Linked DNA regions of Homo sapiens: all the other regions are linked to region 1. Evidence: promoter capture Hi-C in 16 types of primary human blood cells and fetal thymus (Javierre and others, 2016). All regions are on one chromosome and are shown on one strand. The core of a region is centred on a gene start or on the middle of the fragment in contact, and the rest is flanking DNA. Distances in the headings are between cores, read along the strand shown. Region 1 holds the start of CNN1 (calponin 1). Region 2 holds the start of ZNF846 (zinc finger protein 846). Region 3 holds the start of RNASEH2A (ribonuclease H2 subunit A). Region 4 holds the start of MAST1 (microtubule associated serine/threonine kinase 1). Region 5 holds the start of MAN2B1 (mannosidase alpha class 2B member 1).

Evidence for each region. The method cuts DNA at HindIII sites, captures the fragments that hold promoters and counts their contacts. A CHiCAGO score of 5 or more calls a contact.
Region 2: a contact is called between the fragment with the promoter of ZNF846 here and the fragment with the promoter of CNN1 in region 1, in 1 of 17 cell types (neutrophils). The highest score is 5.0, in neutrophils.
Region 3: a contact is called between the fragment with the promoter of RNASEH2A here and the fragment with the promoter of CNN1 in region 1, in 2 of 17 cell types (non-activated CD4 T cells and fetal thymus). The highest score is 10.2, in non-activated CD4 T cells.
Region 4: the fragment with the promoter of MAST1 here is called in contact with the fragment with the promoter of CNN1 in region 1 in 2 of 17 cell types (activated CD4 T cells and non-activated CD4 T cells); the score reaches 6.2 in activated CD4 T cells.
Region 5: the fragment with the promoter of MAN2B1 here is called in contact with the fragment with the promoter of CNN1 in region 1 in 2 of 17 cell types (erythroblasts and monocytes); the score reaches 7.4 in erythroblasts.

What each region holds. Positions count from the first base shown.
Region 1 is chr19:11,536,519-11,541,490 of GRCh38, reverse strand. It overlaps CNN1 (calponin 1), which reads right to left and starts at 2,640. Exons shown (of 7, transcript NM_001299.6): 1 at 2,501-2,640; 2 at 294-415. The coding sequence starts at 2,563. RefSeq lists a silencer at 1,615-1,664 and an enhancer at 2,724-3,669. The HindIII fragment of the contact is 23,519 bases long and covers 1-4,972 here.
Region 2 is chr19:9,765,477-9,770,425 of GRCh38, reverse strand. It overlaps ZNF846 (zinc finger protein 846), which reads left to right and starts at 1,688. Exons shown (of 6, transcript NM_001077624.3): 1 at 1,688-2,137. RefSeq lists enhancers at 1,404-1,623, 895-1,760 and a silencer at 1,704-1,873. The HindIII fragment of the contact is 9,482 bases long and covers 1-4,949 here.
Region 3 is chr19:12,804,502-12,809,785 of GRCh38, reverse strand. It overlaps RNASEH2A (ribonuclease H2 subunit A), which reads right to left and starts at 3,202. Exons shown (of 8, transcript NM_006397.3): 1 at 2,986-3,202; 2 at 2,707-2,778; 3 at 2,457-2,580; 4 at 2,280-2,367. The coding sequence starts at 3,112. RefSeq lists enhancers at 3,099-3,148, 3,349-3,478 and a cis regulatory region at 2,923-3,955. The HindIII fragment of the contact is 3,433 bases long and covers 2,416-5,284 here.
Region 4 is chr19:12,837,138-12,842,723 of GRCh38, reverse strand. MAST1 (microtubule associated serine/threonine kinase 1) reads right to left here and starts at 4,209. Exons shown (of 26, transcript NM_014975.3): 1 at 4,069-4,209; 2 at 2,190-2,278; 3 at 1,658-1,733. The coding sequence starts at 4,151. RefSeq lists an enhancer at 2,163-2,222 and silencers at 4,129-4,178, 4,229-4,408, 4,413-4,596. The HindIII fragment of the contact is 9,607 bases long and covers 1-5,258 here.
Region 5 is chr19:12,662,944-12,668,025 of GRCh38, reverse strand. It overlaps MAN2B1 (mannosidase alpha class 2B member 1), which reads left to right and starts at 1,284. Exons shown (of 24, transcript NM_000528.4): 1 at 1,284-1,483; 2 at 2,221-2,323; 3 at 2,501-2,674; 4 at 3,041-3,234; 5 at 4,191-4,323; 6 at 4,564-4,709. The coding sequence starts at 1,325. WDR83 (WD repeat domain 83) reads right to left here and starts at 1,219. Exons shown (of 11, transcript NM_001099737.3): 1 at 1,034-1,219. RefSeq lists a silencer at 1,142-1,421 and enhancers at 1,672-1,801, 1,822-1,951, 2,012-2,061, 2,602-2,651, 1,718-2,665 and 2 more. The HindIII fragment of the contact is 17,009 bases long and covers 1-3,744 here.

The DNA.
Region 1 (4,972 bases), core at 1,391-3,890:
TGACCGCTCTTTCTGGGGACTCTGGCGGCCACAGATGGGCCTACCCTATATAGCATGGTGGTTAAGATTCTAGAGTCATTTCCCTTGAAACCACGTGGGACTTGGTGCAATGCATTTCACCTGAGCCTCAGTTTTCTGTGCCTGTTAAATGGGCACAATGATTACTGGCCACCCCAAAGGTATCCAATAGAAAGTGTTCAACTCAGTTCCAGGATCATGGTTGTTTTGGGGGTTGAGGGGCTGCATGGAGTTGGGGGATGTTGCAGGGTCTCGGCTTCGAGAGCCTCACTCACTCGCAAAGAATGATGCCATCTTTGAGGCCGTCCATGAAGTTGTTGCCGATGCGACGGCCTGTCACCCCCTCGATCCACTCTCTCAGCTCCTGCTCCCGCTGGTGGTCATACTTCTGGGCCAGCTGGGGCGAGGGGAGGGCAGGGGGCACAGAGAAAGGGGTGAGGATGCATTGGGGGCAGCCTGGGCTCCCTGGGTCCTGTCTGAACTTCCTAGAGCCTGATCTCCCTCGTCCTTCCCAACTAAGGCAATTTTGCCCCAGATCCATAGTTGGGGGATGGGGGCTGGGGCGGGCTGAGAGCCAGGGCTGAGGTGGCACCTGCCCAGGGGGCCATTCCGGGCATTCTGAGGTTTGGCACCAGGGAATGTAGATGAGGGGTGGGGTGTGGGGAGCTGGATCCTCTGAGCTAGAGGGGTGGCACCCGGCACCCTGGTTTTTCGCCCAGGCCAAACTTGGGGCTTCTCTTCCTCTAGCCCTGCCCCCTCTGTGCCCCCTGTTGGAAGAGAGGGCACCTCAGGAAGGGAAGAAGGATGTCTAAGGAGGTGTCCCTGGGTGCTGGCTTGCAGAGGAGTGCTGGTCATACATCTCTGTCTCTCCGTGTCCCCCAGGTCTTCAGCTCCAGGGCTCTGTCTCTGGTTAGTGGTGGGGGCTTGTCTCTGTCTTAGCCCCCACCCCTTGCACGTCTGTATGTCTCTCTCCCTCTTATCCCCCCGACTCCTCTGTCTCTCTCTTCCCCAGCGCTGTCTTTTCTTGGCCCAGTCTTGGGTCCCCATCTCTCTAGGTGGCTAGTCCCTGTCTGGCCAGGGGTAGGGCTCCTGGGTCTTGTATATCTGCCTCTCTAGGTCTTTCTCTGTCTCCAGGTTTCCTGCCTGGGGTGGGGGTGGTGGGGCTCTGTCTCCTCTCCCTGCCCCTCCATCCTTGTCTAGGTCTTATCTCGCTCCTGGCTCGCCCTCCCCCGTCTGTCCCTAGGGTGTCTCAGGCTCCCAGTATCTCTGTCTGCCTCTCCCCCCACCTCCCTGCTTTTCCCTCTCTCCACTGTCCCCCCCCTCCCCCACTCCACTCCCATTTCTCCAGAACCCTCCGCCCAAGCCCAGCCAGGCTCCCAGCCCCTAGGGGACCGGGCTGCCTCTTCTTCTCCCGGGTGAGTGGGGGGAGGTGGGAGGGGCGGCCCCCTCACCTGGCCCTGGCCCTGCCGCCCCCCACGCCACCAGCCCGGCTTTATAAAGCAAACCGGCCCTTATATAGCGTGGCCCGGGCTCCCCGAGGCCGCCTTATAAGGCGCGGCGTCTCTGCGCGGCTCTGCGCGGCTCTGGGGCCGGCGCTGGGGGGGAGGAGGGCGGCGCTGGGATCTGTCTCTCGCCCGAGGACCCGCCCCCCACCAGCCCCCTCCTCCAGCCCCGAGATCCCTCGACCCAGGTTCCAACCCAGTCCCCCACTTCCTCACCATGGGACCCTGGGAAAAGCCACCCTGAGCCTCAGTGTTCCCCTCTGTCAAATGGGGCAGGAACTCCTCCCTCGGCAATACTGTTGGGGCGATTCCAGTGGGCTGGAAACTTAAAGTTCTCCAGCTGGGAGAAGCTGAGCCCATCCTGGTGTATGGGGGGTGAGTCCAGGGTCCGAGCGCTGTACCTGCTTTACCTGGGACCCCAGCTATTTGCCTCTCCTCTCCGAACCTCAGTTTACCCAACCATAGCATGAAGGTGGTGTCCAGGTATCTTCCTAGCTCCACAGTCAGGAGACCCCTGCCGCACTTCTGATGCCCGCTTCCTGCCTTTCACCGTCCCCCTCTGTCTTCAGGATCTCCCACACTTTCACGGCGTCACTTCCCAGGTACCCCAGCACTCAAGCGCTCCCCAATTTCTTTGTCAGGCCGGGGGATATGGAAAAATCAACAAGTCTTCCCCCTATGTTGTTCCCCCCAAGAACACGAAGGGTTAACAGAAGACTGATCAGGTGGGTATCTTTGCAATGGACTGACCCCCTCTGTTTATGTGTGGCTGTGTGCCCCCCCATTCCAGCCCCAACCATAGCTGGGGGCTCCGGGATGTTCAGGGGGAGACAGGCAGCCCCTATCCCATATCACTCCCTTTTCCCCTCTCAGTTTCCAAGTCACATAGGATAGGCAGGAGGGGGTTCAAGGGACCCCAAGCTCAGGGCTCTGGCCTGGCAGGACGTGTGGGCCAGGCCAGGGAGGCCCTCCAGCCCTACCTTGTTCTTAACCTCGGCTGACAGCCCGTAGGCAGGGCCTCGGTTGAAGTGAGCAGAGGACATGCTGGCCGGTGGGCTCTGGCGGGGGCAGTGGCGGCACTGACGCTGAGAACAGAGGCAGCGGCTGAAGTTCCGTCTGCACACTCTTCCCTCCTCACATGTTTTTGAAGCTCCGGAGGCGACCCGGGTCTCTTCCAGGGCCGTTCCATTGGCTGTAGGGGCCTGCCAAGGGGCGGGGCACCTCCCCCCACAACCTCAGCTGCCTTCCCCTCCCCTTGTGATGTCAGGCCCTTGGTATTGGGAGCTGATTGTGTCATTGTTTCCACCTAGGGGGGCAGCCTGCGTTATTCTGGGGGGGCTTGGTCAGACAGAGACCAGCCTTCTTCCACCCACCCCTCCCACTGTCCATTGGGCCTCTGGCTGGGTCTGAGTCTCTTTGTCTCTGAGGTCATCTCTCTTTATCTCTCTGGAGTCTTGAAGCAGGACTGACACCCAAGGTAGTTTAGTGAGCACCATCCCGGGTTTATCTCCAGATACCAACAGTCTATAGCCTTAGGTAAGCCCCTTCTCCTCTCTGGGCCTCTATGGCCACATCTGTAAAATGGGCTAACGATAGTGCCTGCCTCATGGGAGAGTTGTAAAGATCAGAAGAATATGCCTGTTACATGCCCAGCACAGTGCCCGGCACAGCAGAGGGACTCGGGCCATAGCAGTCTTTTTAAGGCAAGGTTTCACTCTGTCCCCTCGGCTGGAGTGCAGTGGCACAATCACAGCTCACTGCAGCCTTGACCTCCCAGGCTCAAGTGATCCTCCCATCTCAGCCCATCCAAGTAGTTAGAATTGCAGACTTGTGCCACCAACCTGGCTAATTTTATTTTATTTTTTTAGAGATGGGGTCTCGCTATGTTGCCCGGGGTCTCGCTATGTTGCCCAGGCTGGTCTCAAATTTCTGGGCTCAAGCAATCTGCCCGCCTTGGCCTCCCAAAACGCTGGGATTTACAGGCATGAGTCACCATGCCCAGCCTATAGCATTCTTTATGCTGAGGGTCCAGCACCCCAGTTCTGTCTCCTCCAGCCCCTCATAAGGACCTGGGGGAGAAGAGATCCTGGGTCTCACCCTCCCCATCCACTTGTGTGTCACCTGAACTACAGGGTGACTTTGTTGGCAAGTCCCAGGCCGTGAACTGTGTCCCTGTCAAACAGCCCTACCCAGCCAGATCTCACCCCTGGACCACAGGGGTGGATGCTATGCCCACATCATGCCCCACATGGCAAGGCCATGTTTGTGACACTTGGATGACATGTCTGCAACCTGCCACACACTAATGATATGTTGAGGATATGCAGTTTATCGGTCACATGCTAATGGCATGGCTGCAATATGCCACAGACTACAGCCCTTATGTCAGGCCATGTTCCAACTCTGTACATATATCCATTCAATTCTCATGACGCCCTCAGAGATGGACACTGTTATTATTATTATTATTATTATTATTATTATTATTTGGAGACAGAGTCTCTATTCCCCAGGCTGGAGTGCAGTGATGCTATCTCGGCTCACTGCAACCTCCACCTCCTGGGTTCAAGCGATTCTCCTGCCTCAGCCTCCCAAGTAGCTGGGATGACAGGTGTCTGCCACCACGACTGGCTATTTTTTGTATTTTTAGTAGAGACGGGGTTTTGCCATGTTAGCCAGGCTGGTCTCGAACTCCTGACCTCAGTTGATCTGCCCACCTCGGCCTTGCAAAGTGCTGGGATTACAGGCGTGAGCCACCGTGCCCAGCTGACACTGTTATTATTAATACAAGTACTTTGCTTTACAGGTGGGGAAACTGAGGCACGGGGGCTTGGAATCACTTTTTCAGCGTCACACAGCAGGCCAGGGGCAGAGGAGAATTTGAGACCATGCTCCATGAACCTCAACTATGAGGCTAAGGTGGGGTTTCTCAACCTCCACACTGTTGACAGCTGAGGCTGGATAATTCTTCATGGTTGGGGGGCTGCCTTGGGCATTCATTGTAAGACTTCAAGCAGCATGCCTGGCCTCTACCTGCTACATGCCAGTAGCACTCTCTTAGTCCTAATAAACAGAAATGTTGAGGCACTGCGGCAGGACCCTGTAGTCCCAGCTACTAAGGAGGCTGAGGTGGGAGGATCCCTTGAGCCCAGGAGTTTGAGAACCATCTGGCCAAGATAGCAAGACCATGGTCTCTAAAAAAGAAAAATTAAAAGAAGAAATGTCTACACACATTGCCAATGTCCCATGATTGGGGTCGGGGTGGAAGCAGATCACCCCTGTTTGCCAACCACTGAGCTAAGGCAATGTGCTAGTTGATGGCATGTCATGATATGTTGAACATACACGAAAATACATAAAATACGAGGCCAAGGCGGGAGGATCGCTTGAGCCCTGGAGTTCGAGACCCGAGACCAGCTTAGGCAACATAGCGAGACCCCGTCTCTATTTAA
Region 2 (4,949 bases), core at 439-2,938, 1.8 Mb after region 1:
TATTTAGTAAAAAAAAATTAAGTACTGATACATGCTAATTGGATGAACCTTGAAAACATTGAATGAAACAAGCCAAACACCACGTGTTTTATATTCTAATTCTACAGGCAATATCTACAGTAGGCAATCTATACAGACAGAAAGATTAGCTGTTGCTTTGGACTCTGGGGGTGGGGGTGGGGCTGGATGAGCAGATTGGGTGATCATGGCTAGGGTACTGGGTTTATTTTTGTGGTCATGAAAATGTTCTAAAATTGATTGTGATGATCGATGCACAAATATATGAATATACAAAAAGCCACGAAACTGTACACTTTAAACAGGTTAATTGTATGCTATGATAATTGTATCACAACAAAACTAAAGGCCTAAAGAAGGAACTGAATGTATCAGAGGCACAGAGCATTTTATGGATTAACAGGTTAATCTTTTTTTTTTTTTTTTTGAGACGGAGTCTCACTCTGTCGCCCAGGCTGGAGTACTGTGGCATCGTATCAGCTCACTGCAACCTCAGTCTCCTAGGTTCAAGCAATTCTCCTGCCTCAGCCTCTCGAGTAGCTGGGATTACAGGCGCCCACCACCACACCCGGCTATTTTTTAAAAAATATTTTTAGTAGAGATGGGGTTTCGGCATGTTGGCCAGGCTGGTCTCGAACTCCTGAACTCACGTGTTCCACCCGCCTCGGCTTCCCAAAGTGCTGGGATTACAGGCGTGAGCCACTGCCCCCAGCCCCATCAGGTTAATCTTTCAAACAGGGTGTCGCTGGTCTCGAACTCCTGGGCTCAAGCGATTCTCCCGCAGTAGCTAGGACTACAGCGGGATTATCTTTGTAAATATGTTTATATCCCTGCAGAGGGTTGAAGAAACAAGGAGAAAATCCTGCAGAAAAGAATTTCCCTAGGGTGGTGGCTCACGCCTATAATCCCAGCACTTTGGGAGGCCAAGGTGGAAGGATCACTGGAGCCCAGGAGTTCCAGATCAGCCTGGGTAACAAAGAGAGACCCTGTCTCTACAAAAAAATAAAAATAAAATAAAAATAAATTAGCCAGGCGTGGTGGCACACACCTGTGGTCCAAGCTGCTTGGGAGGCCGAGGGGGGAGGATCCTTTAGGCTCAGGAGTTCGAGACCAGCCTAGGGAACACAGTGAGACCCAAGTGTCTAGAAAAAGATAACTTAGCTGGGCGTGATGGGCCCAACTGTGGTCCAAGCTACTCCGGAGGCCGAGGCGGGAGGATAGCTTCAGCGCAGGAATTCCAGGCTGCAATGATCTATGACCGAGCCACTGCACTCCAGCCTAGGCGACAGACCGGAGCCTTATCTCAAAAAACTAAAAAGAGAAATTAAAAAAGAAAAGAAAAGCACTCGATGAGCATCCCGCTGTCTGCAATCGAAGCCTTAGGTGACGCCTCCACGCGTGCCCCGCCCGCTGCGCCAGTCCCCGCCTCCAACCCGGCCCTTGGCGCTGGGTTTCCTGGTCCGGCGTCGTTCCCAATATCGACAGATTGATCTGGATCCTGGTCCACCTGGGATGCGAGAAAACGGGACTTTTCTGTACGCGTGTCGAAGAGGTGGCCCCAGCTCTTCTCTCAGCTTCACATCATCCTCATTCCAAAGCTCTTGGGGCTCGGCCCCTACACTTAATGCCGTGCGCAACCGGAAGCGGAAGTGCCAGCCGGCGCGCAGCTATACGTATTCCCCGCTCTCCAGCAGCTTCCTAGCTGGGTTTTCACCTCAGCCAGCGCTCATGCTCAACCTAGGCAGGGCGGGGCAGGAGGGCCTAGCGGGAGGCGGAGCGAGGGTCGGAGGGTGACGCTCCGGACTTCTGCTAGGTCTGAGACGCGCCGGCCTCCCGCTGCTGCTCCGGAGAAGCGGCGCCTCCTCCCCGCCAGGACCCCGAGGCGGGGGGTTCCCGCCTTCTCTTCTGAGCGCCTCTTCCCGCTGCGCCCGCATCAGTCTGGGCCTGGCCCAGGGTCCCCGGTGGAGACGTGTTTTTTTCTCCAACCACCGTGCCCCTCTGTTTAAAAGCAGCCAGTCAACCTTTGTGTCCTTTCTCCAGAAGGAAAAGCATCTCAGCTGTTGTGGAAAAGGGCCCCAGCGTCCTCTTGTCACCGACAGGGCGATTGCAGTGCGTTCCGGTGAGCCCTGGACGGAGGAGATGATCTGGCTGTGGGAGGGCATCGCTTATTGAAGTTTGCGAAATTGCTCAGCAGTTAAATGCTTTGTCAAGTGTGCAGGAGTTGTAGGTTTATAGAAATAAAAGCAAATATTGCCACAGTTATAAAGCAAAGTAGCAATACTCCGCTGTGTTTTTGAGATCAAAAGCAGCTGAACTTCCTAGGTCAGTACCTCCCAAAGAGCTTCAAAACGGAGGGGCTTCCAGGAAGTAGGATGCCGCCTTCATTATACCAGTATCAGAAATTACAGTTGTATTAACTGTGAAAGAGACATGTTTTGATTCAGCGTTTTTCCTCTCGTATATATACATATTTTGAGACGGAGTTTCGCTCTTATTGCCCAGGCTGGAGTGCAATGGCGTGATATAGGCTCACTGTAAACTCTGTCTCCCGGTCCAAGCGATTCTCCTGCCTCAGCATGCTGAGTAACTGGGATTACAGGCATGTGCCACCACGCCCGGCTAATTTTGCATTTTTAGTAGAGACGGGGTTTCACCATGTTGGTTGGGCTGGTCTCGAACTCCTGACCTCGTGATCCACCCTCCTCGGACTCCCAAAGTGCTGGAATTACAGGTATAAGCCACCGCGCCTGGCCTTCCCCCTCATATATTTTTATTTATTTATTTACGTTTTAAAGACAGGGTCTTGGTTTGTTGCCCAGGCTATCTGTAGATTGAATATTCTAAACCAAAGAAAATGTGAAAGGCCAGAATATTGAACACCTATTATATATCCTTGTTGTAGACTGATCATTTGTTAATATTTTGCATGTTTTCTGTTTCTTTGCATCTCTTGTGTAGATCAATGTGTATTGGCCGGGTGCGGTAACTTAAACACCTGTAATCCTGGCACTTTGGGAGGCCGAGGTGGGCGGTTCACCTGAGGTTGGGAGTTCCAGACCAGCCCGACCAACATGGAGAAACCCTGTCTCTACTAAAAATACAAAATTAGCCAGGTGTGGTGGGGCATGCCTGTAATCTTAGCTACTCGGGAGGCTGAGGCAGGAGAATCGCTTGAACCCGGGAGGCAGAGGTTGTGGTGAGCTGAGATCGTGGCAATGCACTACAGCCTGGGCAACAAGAGCAAAACACCGTCTAAATAAATAAATAAATAAATAAAACTAGGCCGGGCACAGTGGCTCACCCCTGTAATCCCAGCACTTTGGGAAGCAGAAGCAGGAGGAGCCACTGAAGCTATGAGTTTGAGACAAGCTGGGACAACATAGTGAGACCCCATCTCTACAAAAAAAAAAATAAATAAATAAAAGCATAACTAAAGTCAGTGACAATATCAAGTCTTCTTTAAGATGTGCATGCATTGCTGAAGAGAACACTTTTTTTTTTTTTTTTTTGAGACAGAGTCTTGCTCTGTTGCCAGGCTGGAGTGCAGTGGCATGATCTCGGCTCACTGCAACCTCCACCTCCCGGGTTCAAGTGCTTCTCCTGCCTTGGCCTCCCGAGTAGCTGGAACTACAGGTGCATGCCACCATGCCCAGCTAATTTTTGTATTTTTAGTAGAGATGGGGTTTCACCATGTTGGCCAGGATGGGTTTCACCATGTTGGCCAGGATGGTCTCCATCTCTTGACCTTGTGATCCACTCACCTCGGCCTCCCAAAGTGCTGGGATTACAGGCGTGAGCCACCATGCCCAGCTACATTTTAAAACAGTGACAACTAAATATGGACTTGGTGATGCAACATGCATACGTGTGCCAGGCTAAATGTAAAAGTTATTTATCACATTATTTGAAATAGCCTAAATTAGGAACAACCCAAATGTGGATCCACAGAATGGGTGAATTGTGGCATATTTCTGTGGCTTTTTTTTTTTTTTTTTGTGACAGAGTCTTGCTCTGTCACCAGGCTGGAGTGCAGTGGCGCAATCTTGGCTCACTGTAATTTCTGTCTTCCTGGTTCAAGTGATTCTCTTGCCTTAGCCTCCCGAGTAGCTGGGATTACAGGTGTGAGCCACCCATTTTTCTTTGTATTTTTAGTAGAGATGGGGTTTCACCATGTTGACCAGGCTGATCTTGAACTGCTGACCTCAAGCGATCTGCCCACCTCGGCCTCCCAAAGTGCCGGGATTACAGGCGTGAGCCACCATGCCCAGCCTCTGTGGCATATTCTTCAGCAAAGATATGAACCAAATCACAGGTGGATGAACACAACAACTTGGGTGCACCTCACCAGCATAATGCTGACTGAAAGAAGCCAGACACAAAAGTATTCTTACTGTCTGATAGTTGCTAGGCAAAGTCAACTAGAGTATTTTTTCTTTTATTCTTTGTTTTCATATATGTGTATATATATATATGTATATTTATTTGTTTATTTATTTATTTAATAAAGAGACTTGGTCTCACTATATTGCCCAGGATGGTCTCTAACTCCTGGCCTCAAGCATCCTTCTACTTCAACCTCCCAAAGGGTTAGGATTACAGGCATGAGCCACCCCCTGGACAATTAGAGTATTAAGTGTCAGAATAGTATTACAATTGGGAGGCATGCCATGGAAAAGACTATGTCTGCAATGCAGGGTATGGAAATGCTTTATTTGTTTGTTTGTTTGTTTGTTTTGAGATGGAGTCTTGCTCTGTCACCCAGGCTGGAGTGCAGTGGTGCAATCTCGGCTCACTGCAAACTCTGCCACCTGGGTTCATGCTATTCTGTTTCCTCAGCCTCCCCAGCTGCTGGGACTACAGGCACACGCCGCCATGCCCAGCTAATTTTTTTGTAGCTTTAGTAGAGACGGGGTTTCACTGTGTTAGCCAGG
Region 3 (5,284 bases), core at 1,953-4,452, 1.3 Mb before region 1:
AAATAAATACAATAAAATAAAGAAAAAACTCACCTCCTGAAGAGGCTTTCTCTATCACGCTGCTTTTACTCTAACTTATTTAGCACCTACTGCATGCCACATACTGTTCTAGGAACTGAGGTGGCAGAAAACACTAGAAAAAAATTGGTAGAGTGCGTTAGCACAAGCCTGTAATCCCAACACTTTAGGAAGCCGAAGTGGGAGGATCGCTTGAGGGCAGGTGGTTGAGACCAACCTGGGCAACATATGGAGACCCTGTTTCTACAAAAAATAAAAAGTTAGCTAGGTGTAGTGGTGAATAAAGGCTTGAAGGAGGTGAGGAAGTGAACTGTGCAGAGATCTGGGGAAGAGGGCTCTAGGTGTGAGAACAGCCAGTACAAAGGCCCTGAGCTGGGACCAGGTTCATGATGCTGGGCCCATGCATGGGGGCCTTTGGCTGCAGCACCGAAGAGAGGGTCCAAGAGCTGCTGGGGGAAAGTGGTATCTCCACAGCACTACTGTTTTCAGAAACAACCTTTATTTTTTGTTTACCAGCTGACCATCTTTCATGTTTTATTTTTTTATTTTTTATTTTTAGTAGAGATGGGGTTTCACCATGTTGGTCAGGCTGGTCTCGAACTCCTGACCTGATGATCCGCCCGCCTCGGCCTCCCAAAGTGCTGGGATTACAGGCGTGAGCTACTGCGCCCAACCTCCAGCTGACCATCTTTCTGCCCAGGCTAGGCCCTGAACGCCTACGGGTAGGGCCCTTGTCTGTCTACACCAGTTACTGTATCGCCAGCTCTGCATTTGGGCCTGGTCCTCAGGTCCCTCCTCAGCAGGGTCTACCTTGCTATAATTCCTTTCTTTCTTCTTCTTTTTGTGGAGATGGAGTCTCGCTATGTTGCCCAGGCTGGTCTGGAACTCCTAGCCTCAACCAATTTGCTCACCTCAGCTTCCCAAAGTGCTGGGATTACAGGCGTGAGCCACCATACCCAGCATACAATTCCTACGTCAAGGTTATTTTGCCTTGTTATTCTCTCAGAACGGTCCATTCTTTCATTGAGAGCATTCGAGGCAATGCTGATTTATGTTTTTCTCTGGTAATTTAATGTAATTCTGCCCCACTCGACTGTGAATTTTCCTGATTTAATTTCCACTGTGATCGGAAAACTAAATGTCGAGATGTGCATTTCAAAAAGACTACCTTCTGTTGCTGCTTGGGGAACAGATTGGAGGGGATAGGAGGGTGAGGGACGAGAGACGACACTCAGCAGGTGTCCAGGGAGTGGGGGGTGTCCTGGGCTAGGACAGAGGTGACAGGTAGACAATGTAGGATTTGTTCTGGAGACTGAGCCTTTAGGATGAGGGAGAGATTAGATGGAGACGGGACTAGGGGCTACACTGTGGTCGTCAGTGTGGCACACATTTAGGGCAGAAACAGGAGCACGAAATCAACAGTAGCAATGAATATGCCCGAGGCACTCCAGACGTATCTGATGCTGAATCTGCACACTGCACATTTTTGCCCACATTTATTTTTTATTTTATTTTTATTTTTATTTTTCGCTCTGTCCCCCAGGCTGGAGTGCAATGGCGCGATCTCACCTCACTGCAACCTCCGCCTCCCGGGTTCGAGCAATTCTTCTGCCTCGGCCTCACCAATAGGTGGGATTACAGGCACCCGCCACCATGCTGGGCTAATTTTTTGTATTTTCAGTAGAGATGAGGTTTCACCATGTTGGCCAGGATGGTCTTCAACTCCTGACCTCAGGTGATCTGCCTGCCTCAGCCTCCTGAAACGCTGGGATTACAGCCGTGAGCCACTGCGCCTGGTCTCCCATTTTTAGTTTATTTTTTATTTTTTATTTTTTTGAGACAGGGTCTTGCTCTGTTGCCCGGGTTGGAGTGCAATGGCACAATCTTGGCTCACTGCAACTTCTGCCTCCTGGGTTCAAGCGATTCTCCTGTCTCAGCCTCCTGAGTAGCTAGGATTACAGGCGCCTGCCACCACGTCCAGCTAATTTTTGTATTTTTAGTAGAGACGGGGTTTCACCATGTTGGTCAGGCTGGTCTCGAACTCTTGACCTCCGGTGATCTACCCGCCGCGGCTTCCCAAAGTGCTGCGATTATAGGCGTGAGCCACTGCGCCCTGCCTCCATTTTTGAGTTGGGGGGCTTCCTTTGTCACCCAGGATGGAGTGCTGTGGCATGATCATGGCTCACTGCAGTCTCGAACTCCTGTTTTGTCCCCATTTTATCCTGAGATGACCAAATGGGGACAACTTACAGTTAACTCACCTGGGTGACGTTCACGCCCTGGTCCAATGCATACTGTATAAGCCCAGTGGCTGTATCATGTGACAGGGAGTTCAGGTTGTATTTGACCCTGTGGTGGGGAACAGAGCCCAGTTAATCTCATTCTAGGAACAAAGCTTGGTCAGCCCATGCTGGCTGCCCCTCCCGGGGACCCCTCACCGCCCAAGCATGCTGGTAGAGATGAGGTTTGGAGACAGCACATCCAGCGCCCAGCCGACAAAGTCCGTGTCCTCCATTTTCGCAAACAGCCTTTCCCGCTCGCTCTCCAATAGGGTCTTTGAGTCTGGGAGGAGGTTTGGAAGAGAAGGGGAACAGCTGGTTCTCCCAGTTCCTGCCCTCCCCTTTCAGTTCTCACCTGCCCCTGCACATACCCAGGAATCCCTTCCCCAGACGCACACCTCGGGCTCACCTGCCACTTTCAGCGCCTCCAGATCTGCCAGGCGAGGCAGGGGACAATAACAGATGGCGTAGACCATGGGGCCTGGGGAGAAGGGGTGTCAGTTTTCTGGCAGCCGGGGTCCAATCACTGAGCCCGTGAAAGTTGCCATTCATCCCTGTTCTATCATCACTGCTTCTTTAGGTGCCATCACCACGACCACATCCCCTCCCTTGGTGCAGTGCAATCCCGACTCCCGTTTCCCGCATCCTCCGTACCACGCCCCTCCCCTCCCTGGCCCTAGGGGCGCACCCAGCACGGGGCCCCTGCCCGCCTCATCGACGCCCAGGACGCAAGGCTCCTTGCGGCACACCGCGGGCACAGGCGAACTCAGGCGACAGCGGCCTGTATTGTCTCTCTCCAGCTCGCTGAGATCCATGCCGCCTCAGCCGCCACCACCAGCTGCAAGAACTAATACTGCAGGAGCGGGTCTCGGCGCGCGTTTTCCGCGGGCCTCGAAGCGGCGCCTGCTTCCGGCCAATCCGCGGGCAGAACACGCCCCTGGCGCTCCCGCCGCCGTGGACGCTTACGCAGCCGACGCCGACGTCGCTGCCGTGCGCCCTCCTGGGAATTGTAGTCCCGAAGGGCTATGGCCGAACACTCAGCTTGGGGAATTCGGTGGACGGGGTCACTTTGCAAGCTCTGCTTCACGGTCTCTGGGGCCCCGCCTGCGTGGCCCGGTGGGAAGAGGGGGAAATAAGAGGGAAACTGAGACGTAGCTTCGAAGACCCAGCCTAACGGGGAACTAGAGAGTCAAATATCACCCCACTCCCAGGACACGGGTCACCGCATCACTGGGTCCCCAACTGCCACTTGGATTCAGGCCCTGTACTTGCGGTCCCTGCTTCTGTACACATTCTAAGTCCCCTGGACCAGGTAGCCCCGCTTCCACTAAACCCAGGCTTTTGGATTTGGAGTCCCCAAACTCCCTCTCTTGGTTGCTCCCTTCGGCCCACCTCCACTCCGTGCAAGATCTGTGCTTCCTAACCTCTGTCTCATTCAGGCCAAGCCTTCCCCACCCCCGTTGGAGATCACAGACCTCGGTGGACTCCTGCTCAGGGTCTCTGCTCCCTATAGAAGCTCATTCCTCCCAACTTAGAATGAATGTCCCCACCCCCACCCCTCGACCCACTTTTTTTTTTTCTTTTTTTTTTTTTTGAGACAGAGTCTCGCTCTTGTCGCCCAGGCTGGAGTGCAATGGCGCCATCTCCGCTCACTGCAAGCTCCGCGTCCCGGGTTCACGCCATTCTCCTGCCTCAGTCTCCCGAATAGCTGGGACTACAGGCGCCCGCCACCACACCCGGCTAATTTTTTGTACTTTTTAGTAGAGATGGGGTTTCACCGTGTTAGCCAGGTTGGTCTCGATTTCCTGACCTTGTGATCCGCCCGCCTCGGCCTCCCAAAGTGTTGGGATTGCAGGCGTGAGCCACCGCACCCGGCCTTCTTTTTTTTTTAGACAGGGTCTCTCTCTGTTGTCCAGGCTGGAGTGCAGTGGCGCGATCTTGGCTCACTGCAACCTCCACCTCCTGGGCTGACGCGATCCTCCCACCTCAGTCTCCCAAGCAGCTGGACTACAGGTGCACACCACACCACCATGCCCGACTATTTTTGGTATTTTTTGTAGAGACGGGGTCTCATTATGTTGCCCAGGCTGGCTTCAAACTCCTGGGCTCAAGCGATCCGGTCGCCTCAGCCTCCCAAAGTGTTGGGATTACAAGCCTGAGCCAGCCACAGTGCCTGGCATCCACCACTTCTATTCCCTGGGCTCACTGGGGCTCATGTCCTCTGCCTGTGGGTTCCCGCCCCTTACCAGGCTCATGCCCCTTCCTCAGGGTCCTAGTTCATTGTCTCTTTATCTCCTTTTACTCCTCTTCGCCTCCCCCTCCACTTTTTTTTTTTTTTTTTTTTTTTTTTTTTTTTTGAGACAGGATGTTACTCTGTTGCCCAGGCTGGATAGCAGTGTAGCGATCTCGGCTTATTGTAACCTTTGCCTCCCAGGCTCAAGCGATCCTTCCTCCCCATCGTACCGAGTAGCTGGGACCACAGGCATGTGCCGCCACGCTCATCTAACTTAAATGTTTTTGTTTGTTTGTTTGTTTGGTTGGTTTTTTTTGAGACAGAGTCTCGCTCTGTCGCCCAGGCTGGAGTGCAGTGGCGCGATCTCGGCTCACTGCAGGCTCCGCCTCCCGGGTTCATGCCATTCTCCTGCCTCAGCCTCCCGAGTAGCTGGGACTACAGGCGCCCGCCACCGCGCCCAGCTAATTTTTTATATTTTTAGTAGAGACGGGGTTTCACCGTTTTAGCCAGGATGGTCTCGATCTCCTGACCTTGTGATCCGCCTGCCTTGGCCTCCCAAAGTGCTGGGATTGCGGGCGTGAGCCACCGCGCCCGGCCTAATTTTAAAAATTTTTATGGAGAGGTGATCTCAACGATATTGCCCAGACTAATCTTGAACTCCAGGACTCAAGAGATCCGCCTGCCTCGGCCTCCCAAAATGCTGGAATTACAGGCGTGAGCCCCGGCGCCCGGCGCCCCCTCCACTTTTCTCCTT
Region 4 (5,586 bases), core at 2,960-5,459, 1.3 Mb before region 1:
CAGCGACACACTCATTCACACTCGCACGCAGATGCACACACACAGGGACACACATCGGCGCGTGCTCATGTGAGTGCACAACACACATTAGCATGTGCATGTGTAAGCGTGTGGCTGTGAGACAGTAAACTGGACGGGCGCGGTGGCTCATGCCTGTAATCCTAGCATTTTGGGAGGCCGAGGCGGGTGGATCACCTGAGGTCAGAAGTTCGAGACCAGCATGACCAACCTGGTGAAACCCCATCTCTACTAAAAATACAAAAATTAGCCGGGCGTGGTGGCAGGCGCCTGTAATCCCAGCTACTTGGGAAGCTGAGGCAGGAGAATCGCTTGAACCCAGAAGGCGGAAATTGCAGTGAGCCGAGATCCCGCCATTGCACTCCAGCCTGGGCAACAGAGCGAGACTCTGTCTCAAGAAAAGAAAAAAAAAAGAGAGAGAGAGAGAGAGACAGTAAACACTGTGACTCTGTGTTTACTATCTCACAGCCACACACTCACACACGCTTACACCCACACACAGATTGCACGCTCACCTGGAGACATACCTGACTTGCTCCTCTCACATATTCACAGACACTTACAATCCTACAGACACATGTTCACACGTTCACATTCGCAGACTCGTGCCATTGCATAGGCACGTAATCCCTCACACAGTGACAATCACACACACACACCAGCACACTTTGCACAGTTACAAGGACACACACACACCCCATTTATTGGACTCCTCCCTTCCTTCTTCCTCCCAGCAGTCCCCTCGCTCAGTCCTCCCCGCTTGCGGATAAACATGTGAGACCCTATCCCAGAGCCTTGTCCTGGCTCTCTATTGCCCTCAGCTAAATTCCATGGTCAATAGGCGGTTCCCCCACTTTCCCAAGGGAGCTGTCTGTCTTCACAGTCTCCTTTGACTCTCACAACACAGCCTTCATCAGCCTTTGCACTGATCCCCATTCTCTGGCCTGCCTGCCCTATTCGACTCAGAGGGTAGAGACAGGACGTCATTGACCCCATACGCCCAGCTCCTAAGAACATAGCAGGTGTTTAGACACCATTTTTAGAATGAATAGAGTTCAAAGAAAAAGAGACAGGCCCAAACTCCCAGAAACGTTTCTCCAGAAAACATCAGAGAAACCTCTCTGCCTCCCCCAGTTTCACCAAAGGCCCATAGAAAATTCATTTAAGGACACCCCAGAAACCCTAAGAGACCCTTGGAAAGAAACCTGAGATTCCTCCCCTTGAGAAACAGCCCTAGTCGTCCTCCCCCACCTCGGGGACCAAGAGTCCCTCGATAGGCATCGCGCAATCTGCGCTTGCGCACGTCATCTTGGCTGCCCCGTCCTGTTGCTATGGAAACACCTGGCCAGGAGAGCAAGGCTCGGAGAGACTAAGACCCCGCGCCCAGGGCGCACGCGCTTTCGACCTGCCGCAAAGGGAGCCCCACCGCCTTCCCCGTTCCAGATCGGCGATTGGACCCCGCCTTCTTATAGGCCCCGCCCCGAAGGCTAGGCGCTCCTTCCCGCTGAGACCTTGGGGCACTCGCTGGTCCCCTCAGGCCCCAGCTCGGGTGCAATTAGGAGGAGAACAGATGGCGGCCCAGACAGTGGTTGGGGAGGGTCTGCCCAGGGTTCTGGGGCCCTGGAGGGGAGGGACTCACCTTCGGGAGGAGGCAAACGAGAAGTGGGCGGGGGTGTTGGGGGAGAAGTTTCGGGGGCTGTCCAGGGGACTGCTGCCTATGAGAGAAAGAGGGGGCAAATCCTGTCAGGTCTCTCGTTCCCTAAAGCGGCGTGCAAACAGCAGCATGTCCTGTCTTTAGTCTAGTCCCGCCTATTATGGGGAGACCACGCCCCTTCGCCTGTGGCCCCGCCTCTCTAAATTTTTTCGTTGCCGAGTCAGCCTGGCCCCTTCCAAGACGATTCTGGCTTCATCTGGGATGGCCCCGCCCCTCAGGTACGACTCCTCCTTTCTGTCCGTCCCACCTGAGTCTCCGCCCACCTGAGTCTCCGCCCCCCAATGACCGTCCCTCTGCGACTGACCACACCCACACAAGCATGGCCCCGCCCCTTATCCAAACTGGTTCGCCTCCATTCAAACTGCGCCCCTTCTGTAGCATGACCACGCTTCCTCGCCTGAGGCCCCGCCTACTGTAGGCCAGTCTGCACCCACCAAGTCTCTACCACTGGCCTCACCTAGGTGACCTGGCAGCGGGGAGTGGGGTCTCGGTAGCGTGGGTGAAGTGCTGGTCAGGATGAGGCTTTTCCGATTACTGGTGCGGCAGCTGCGGGGAAGGTAAGGCAGGGGGGCCGGGCCGGGCCGCAGCCCAGTGAGTTCTTGAGCCCCACCAGCTGACCTCCTGTCTCAGATCCCCGCCTATCTCCCATCCATGTGTGTTTGGAGGCTCCCTGGGAGGGTTTCTCGAAGAAAGGTGGTGCAGGCCTCGGCAGGACTGTGTACGGCAGGGGATGTGCATATGACATGTGTGTGAGAAACTCTCAGTATGGATTATGTGTAGGGCAGTGTCTGTCATGGTGTGATAGTCACTGTGTCTAGGTGACACCATTGGTGATACTGAGCGTGTCTCAGTCTATGCGTGACATTCACTGTAGGTATCCACGTGTGGTATCCACTGTATGAATTCAACAATGTGTGACGCTGAATGCATTCTAGTGTGATACGTGTGACACAACGTGGGTTTATCTTGTGTGATACAATTTGAGCATTTGTGTGTCTATGTGACACAGTGTGAAATGCCACTTGTCCATAACAATGTGTGCTGTAACACAGGCAGGTTGTATTATTATTATTTTTTTTCTTTTAAATCAATGTCTCGCTCTGTCGCCCGGCTGGAGTGCAGTGTGCAGTGGCTCACTGCAGCCTCAAACTCCTGGGCTCAAGCAATCCTCCCGCCTCACCTCACCCTCCTGAGTAGCTGGGACTACAGGTGCCTGCCACCATGCCTGGCCAGGATGCATGATCCCCCCTACATGTATCTATGTCTTTGTGTGGCATTCTGAGTCTGTGTCCGATACTGTCCTTCCGTCTGGGTGTGACATTCACCATGCTTGTCCATGTGTATGTAGCATCTATTGTGTGAATTTAACATCTTGTGACACTGTGTCCAAACATGTCACCACATTTGACATTCTCTAGGTGAGTCTTGCAATGTGATAACATGTGATTTTGCGTGGTTCTGTCTCTGCAAGATCCCTACATCTGTTTATCCTGATGTCAGTGTGACATAGTATGTGAGATACCTAGATATGACATCGTGTGTTGTGACATTCTTGGATGCATGGATGGGATATTGAAACACATGTTTGCATCTTGGATGACATAACTGTGTGTGTGTGGATCGCCATGTAAGTGACATCTTACTAGGTGTACACGACGTGGTGCCCCTGTGTGTCTGTGCATGGTTCTGACCTGTGGCAGCTGCAAGGCTAGGTATGTGTGGCACCTCCCAGTGTATCTGGGCCACTAGGGCTGTTGTGTGTATGTGTGTGACATCATGTCCTGTGTGACGCTGTGTGTCACTATTTTCAGTGTAAGGCTGTGTTCGGGGGGGGGGGTTGTGTTATGATAAACCCCCCCTTTTTTCTACCCCTCAGCATCCAGCTCCCGAAGAGGGAGCCCCAAGCCCCTCCGTCCGTCCCCTCACCCACAGCCGCAGTGACTGAGCATATTAGCGCGTCCAGGAGCACGCGGCATGGGGGTGGGGGGAGGCCAGGCTGCGGCTATTGTTCTGAGGGTGCCAAGCCCCCCAGCCTCCCCTTCTTCCTCTACCCCCACCAGGCTGTTGGAGCCCGCAGCGCCAGCAGACAAAGGCGCCACAAACCCCCAGTGGCGCAGCCCCCTCCCCCCGCGGCCGTCCTCTCCAGCGTGCAAGCCCCCCAGACTCGGCCCACACCACCCCCCATTCAACCCCAACCCCGGCGGGAAGGCGCAGCTGGGGCACCTCTGGCGCAGCTGGACCGGGCGCAGCATCCCGGGCCCCGCCCTGCAGCAGTACCCGGAGCGGCGGCTTTTGCGGGGAGGGCCGGGACAATGTCTAGGGGATCGGGGGTCTACCTCTTGGTGCGGCGGAACATACTGCCGCCGGGGAAGGAGGGCATCGAGAAATTAGAAAGCGCGGTCCAGAGAGAGTCAGACATGACCCGGCGGCGGCGACATGGTGGCAGGTGCGGCAGCAGCGGCGGAGGCGGCGGCGGCGGCGGCGCGGGGAGCAAGCGCGCGGGGCGGAGGCTGCAGCCGCCGCAGCGGGCAGGGGAGGGCAGGGAAGGGGAGGGCCCTGCGGCTGCAGCCGGCCGGGAGGGGGCGCTGCTGCGTGCCGGCGAGCCAGGCCCCGCCCGCGCACTCGCCTGGCGCCCCCACCCCGGCGGGAGAAGGGGCGGCCAGCCCCCGCCACGTCTCTCCCCAGGCTCACCTGCTGCTTTTCCGGGGCAGGGGCAAATCCTTCTGGAAGGCAAAGGGGCAAAACGATGAAGGTCAGCGTGGACCTGCCGTTGCTGCCCACAAGCATTATCAACTCCCTGGAGGAGCAGAAGCAGGGTAAGACAGGCCCCTCTTCAGCACTGTCACTTTCACCCTTGGCCATGCACTGCGGGCCAAGTTTCTTGGGGGAGAGGATCCCTGGGTGATTCCTCTCCTGACCCTCAGAGACCAACAGAGGCCCACGTACACAGGCGGGGCGCCATATAAAGGCAAGTGAGTTGGCATATCAGCGTGTGTTTGTGCAAATGAAATAGGAATCATTATTTGAAAAATATGTCTTGAGCACCTACTGTATGCTGACCCAATCCTAGGCACTAGGGACACAGTAGTGAATAAATTACAAGTCCGGTGTGGTGGTGTGCACCTCTAGTCCCAGCTACTTGGGAGGTTGAGGCAGGAGAATCGCTTGAGTCCAAGGAAACACCAGCGTGGGCAACACAGCAAGACTCTCTGTCTCAAGGAGAAAAAAAAAAAAGTTTCTGGCCTTTTGGGACTAGTATTTATAGGGTAAAGGGGACATTAAACAAGATTAGTGTAGAAGTGAACGAAATCATTTTAGACAATAATTAGTCTTATGAATAAATTAAACAGGGTGATGTGATGGACAATGGCTAGGATGGAGACACATTGTCAGACAGGGCTGCTCTGTGGAGGTGACTTTTAAGCTGGTTGCTGAAAGATAAGAGCCAGCCATGGGAGGATCTGTGGAGAGAGCATTCCAGGTGGAGGGAACTGCAAGGGCAAAGGCCTGGAGGCGGGAATAAGCTTAGCGTACTCAATGAATGAATGAAAGGTTGAATGAATGAAAGGTTGAAAGAATGAATGACTCATCTACACCTCAGCAGATCTATCTGACTCCCAGCTAGAGTCATAGAGTTGGGGTAGGGGGTGGGGGGTAGGTAAGTAGAGTGACTCACAACTGAGATTTAAAATGGGAACCACGGAGGCTGAGGTGGGAGAATCTCTTGAGCTCAGGAGGTCGAGGTTATAGTGAACTATGATTGCACCACTGCTGGAGTAAGACACCCTCTCAATTAACAATAAATAAATAAATAATAAAAAGTTTAAAAAATAAAAAAATAAAAATGGAAATTC
Region 5 (5,082 bases), core at 35-2,534, 1.1 Mb before region 1:
AAGGGCTCTAGCCCCATAGGCCTGGTGTGGGGCCCCAGTCTGGAGGCTTCTGGCTGTTCATTTGCTTACTTCATAAACCTTGTGTCTTAAGTCAGGTGCTAGGGACAAGACAGTGACTTCTGCCCTCTGGCAACTCACCAGATGGCCCTGCTGACCTAGATAATCTAGGCTTTGGTTTCCTTTTTTTTTTTTCCTTTTTAAGAAAGAAAATGGTCTTGATCTGTCATGCAGGCTGAGTGCAGTGGCACAATCTATGTTCACTGCAGCCTCAAACTCCTGGGCTCAAGCAATCCTCCCACCTCAGCCTGCCACGTAACTGGGACCACAAATGCGTGCTACCATGCCCAGTTAATTCTTGTTTTTTTTGAGACAGAGTTTTGCTCTTGTTGCCCAGGCTGGAGGGCAATGGCATGATCTTGATCTCGGCTCACTGCAACCTCCGCCTCCCAGGTTCAAGTGATTCTCCTGCCTCAGTCTCCCAAGTAGCTGGGATTACAGGCATGTGCCACCATGCCCAGCTAATTTTTGTATTTTTACATTTTGTGTAAAATTACAAATTTTGTGTTTTCAAACCCGTCTCTACAAAACAACCCATGTTGCCCAGGCTGGTCTCAAACTCCCAGGCCCAAGTGATTCACCAGCCTGGCCCTCCCAAAGTGCTGGGATTGCAGGCTTGAGCCACTGCGCCTGCCCTGGGCTTTGTTTTCTTATCAGAGAATGAACTGGTAGGAATTGGGAAAGGCATGAAAGACTCGGGGTCCTTCCCCACTTGTCAGACCCTCTTTTCTCTCCGGAACACCCAGGGATCCTTCTCAACCAGGCTGGATCCCATCCCTGGTACTCCAGGGGTATTTACCCAACGTCCCAATCCCCACAGTATAGGACTCTTCATCAGATCCTCCTCTTAGGCAAGCTAGGTCCTTCCAGGACCCTAGCGCTGAAGGTCCATGGGACGGACACCCTGGATTCCCATGGACACACTACACCGGCTAGGAAAACCCGGCCCCCTTAGGAAAAGCACTTCTGCTCCTACCGGCATTAAGAGGCATTCCGTCTTGGAATTCCGGCATTAAGAGGCATTCCGTCTTCATAGCCCGTGAGACGCCAGTGTCACCTTTAGCCCAACCAGTGCCCTGAGGGTGGCATTTTCCTACCTTCCTGTAACGACCCCCGGGATTGCCCAGGGCTACAGCCTCTCTCCCGTGAGCCTCCAGACCGCGCCCTGGCCCCGCCCCCCACCCCGATTGGCCCGGCCGGGTCTGGGGGCGGGGCGTTTGCCCGGCCTTTCCAGGGCCGGGGAACCCCAGGAGGAAGCTGCTGAGCCATGGGCGCCTACGCGCGGGCTTCGGGGGTCTGCGCTCGCGGCTGCCTGGACTCAGCAGGCCCCTGGACCATGTCCCGCGCCCTGCGGCCACCGCTCCCGCCTCTCTGCTTTTTCCTTTTGTTGCTGGCGGCTGCCGGTGCTCGGGCCGGGGGATACGAGGTGAGTGGGGCCTCCGAGCTGAAACGTACAGGAGGCAGAGTGAAACCCAGAATACAGTCTAGAGGTGTGGGTGGGTCTGTCCTGTGGGTGTCTAGTGAATGGCTGATGATATGACAGTGTGGTCTGAGTGCGTGCTTTGTGTCATTGCGAGGTCTGGCTGTGCGCATCTGAGTATAGGACTGTGTCTGATTGTACCTGCCTCCGTGTCTCCGGGATGCTTGCCTAGACTTTGTCTGCACTTAACTGTGGGATTGGAGGGGCAGGAGGTGGCAGGGGGTGAGCAGTGTATGTGTGGGGGGAGGTGCTGGCTGAGAGCTGGGACTCTGGAGTCTGCCTGAAATTCCAGCCTAGCTCTTACACTTCCTGAGTGTGTGACGTTGGGCAAGTCACCTATCCTCTCTAAGCCTCAGTGCCTTCATCTGGAAACTGGGGATAACATCACCCCACCTCCCACGGTGGCCGTCTGCTGTCGGCAAATGCTGAACAAACATCAGCTACTTCTATTATTATTTTCCCGGAGTGTGAATGAGAGCTGCCCTGTGGGGTTGTGCAAAGTGGAGTTGTATCTATGAGCACAACTATGTATGTGTGTGTCCTGCCTGGGAGGGCCTGGCCTCCTCTGCACATAGGCGAGATCAGGCCTCTCTGAGTCACTCACCTCTAGATCAAGACTTACTCTGCAGCCCCCGACCTCGGGGGTTATTGACAAGGTATGTGTGTTTGGGGTCCCTGTGCAGACATGCCCCACAGTGCAGCCGAACATGCTGAACGTGCACCTGCTGCCTCACACACATGATGACGTGGGCTGGCTCAAAACCGTGGACCAGTACTTTTATGGAAGTGAGTAGAGGATGGGGACTGGTCCCTGGGATCCCCATGGTCCCTGTAATCCCTCTGGGTCCTGGACATTAGGGTGGGGCCAGTGCTACCCTAATATCCAGGGTTTGGGCTCCTCTGTCTAGGAATAACCCCCTTGGCTCTGCTGTTCCCTGAGAGCCTTATCCCTGTTATCCACAGTCAAGAATGACATCCAGCACGCCGGTGTGCAGTACATCCTGGACTCGGTCATCTCTGCCTTGCTGGCAGATCCCACCCGTCGCTTCATTTACGTGGAGATTGCCTTCTTCTCCCGTTGGTGGCACCAGCAGACAAATGCCACACAGGAAGTCGTGCGAGACCTTGTGCGCCAGGGTGAGCCTACCCCAAGGAAGTGAAAAGAGGAAGCCCAGCCCAGCTTCTGCTTCTGCATCTCTGGTTTCTGAGATTTGTCATGCCACGTGCAAGCTGTATAACATGCGTGTCGCTCCGCCTGCCTGGACTCTCCATTTGGAGACCTCCTATACATCCCACAAAGCCCCACCTGCTGTGCATCCTCTGGGAAGCCTGCCATGCAGGGGGCCTCTTTCCCATATCTGGGAACTATGGCCTGGGAGCGACCCCTCTTGTCCTTCCGCCAGAAATGTGTACACAGGCAGGCTTTCACATTCCCAGTATCACCCACCCTACTCCCACTCCTGGCTCTGACCGCTGACCCTGACCTTGCCTGTCCTGGCACAGGGCGCCTGGAGTTCGCCAATGGTGGCTGGGTGATGAACGATGAGGCAGCCACCCACTACGGTGCCATCGTGGACCAGATGACACTTGGGCTGCGCTTTCTGGAGGACACATTTGGCAATGATGGGCGACCCCGTGTGGCCTGGCACATTGACCCCTTCGGCCACTCTCGGGAGCAGGCCTCGCTGTTTGCGCAGGTGCGACCCGGGACCTCTCTTGGGCCCACTTCTTCACTCACTCTGGCTCCTCCCTCGCCCAGTCAAACCCCGCCCTCTCCCTGCAATCTCACAAGGACCAGGCCCAGGCCTAGGCCTGTTGAAGCCCTGCCCCTTGAGTGAGCCGTAAAGCCAGTGGCTTTTGAGCTCTGGCCTCAGCCGGCTATGCCCAGCCCAGGCTGACCCAGCTCCGGCTGGCTCCGCCCTCTCCCCTAATAGGCCCCTCTTGGTGTTCTGGCCCCACCCACTAGCTCGGGTCCTGGCTCCTCCCTAAACCGGGTGGCAAGTGGATGCCTAGGCTGCCTTAAAAACAGGTTCATTACCTGTGCTCAGACCCCATCCATCCTCAGGCTGTGGAAGGGGGAACCTCATTCCTGGAGTCAGGCCTGCTCTGCGCTTTGACAGTGCTGGGGAGGTGAACCTGGGTTCTGATGTTGGACCCGCCCTCTCCCTGCTAGCCCAAGGTGGTGAGTTCTGAAACTTCCCCAAGCTTGGAAATAAGCTGGAGGCCTCTCTGTTTCAGCCCTACGTGTTTTTGTTTTTGTTTTTTGAGACAGGGTCTTGCTGTCATCCAGGCTGGAGTGCAGTGGTGCAATCCTAACTCACTATAGCCTCAATCTCCCGGATTCAAGCGATTCTCCTGTCTCAGCCCCCCTAGTAGATGAGACTACAAGAGCGCACCACTACGCCTGGCTAATTTTTAAATTTTTTGTAGACAGTCTGCCCGTGTTGTGCAGGCTGGTCTCAAAAACTCCTGGGTTTAAGTGATCCTCCTGTTTTGGCCTCCCAGAAGGCTGGGATCATAGGCAAGAGCCACCACATCGACCTAGCACTGCTTTTTAACCTGTGCTCTGACCTGCCCCTCCCAAGCAGAGGGGAGTTTGGTGGTGAGAGGGCTGGGCACTAATTCACACTGCCTTTTCCTCCCTCATCCCCAGATGGGCTTCGACGGCTTCTTCTTTGGGCGCCTTGATTATCAAGATAAGTGGGTACGGATGCAGAAGCTGGAGATGGAGCAGGTGTGGCGGGCCAGCACCAGCCTGAAGCCCCCGACCGCGGACCTCTTCACTGGTAGGGGGCTTGGTGAGGGCAGGGCCAGCCATGGTGCCACACACTCAGAAGGGCCCTGGGCTTGATATCTGCTCTGTTGTCACTGTCCTGGAATTCCTATAGTCTGGGAACAAAGGCCCTGCATTTCCTTTTGCATTGGGACACAAATTCTGAAGCCCATCCTGGGTGGGACATGGCCGGCTTTGAAACCAGGGAAGGTCTGGGTGATGGGCCACCCCTTGAACTTGGTGTGACCTGCAGGTGTGCTTCCCAATGGTTACAACCCGCCAAGGAATCTGTGCTGGGATGTGCTGTGTGTCGATCAGCCGCTGGTGGAGGACCCTCGCAGCCCCGAGTACAACGCCAAGGAGCTGGTCGATTACTTCCTAAATGTGGCCACTGCCCAGGTAACCCTGGTGTCCAGAACCTTCGAGTCCGGTATATACAATACAATGAGCTCTTTCCATGGTACAGGCATCCCCTAACACGTTCTCCTTATTTTTAATTTTTTTGAGACAGTCTTACTCTGTCACCCAGGCTGGAGTGCAGTGGTGCGATCTCGGCTCACTGCAACCTCTGCCTCCTGGGTTCAAACAAGCACATCCAGCTAATTTTTGTATTTTTGCACTGGGGTCTCATCATGTTGTCCAGGCTGGTCTCAAACTCCTGAGCTCAAGTGATCTGCTTGCCTCGGCCTCCCAAAGTGCCGGGATTACAGGCATGAGCCACCGCACCTGGCCTCTATTTTTAACATTTTTATTTATTTATTATTATTTTTTT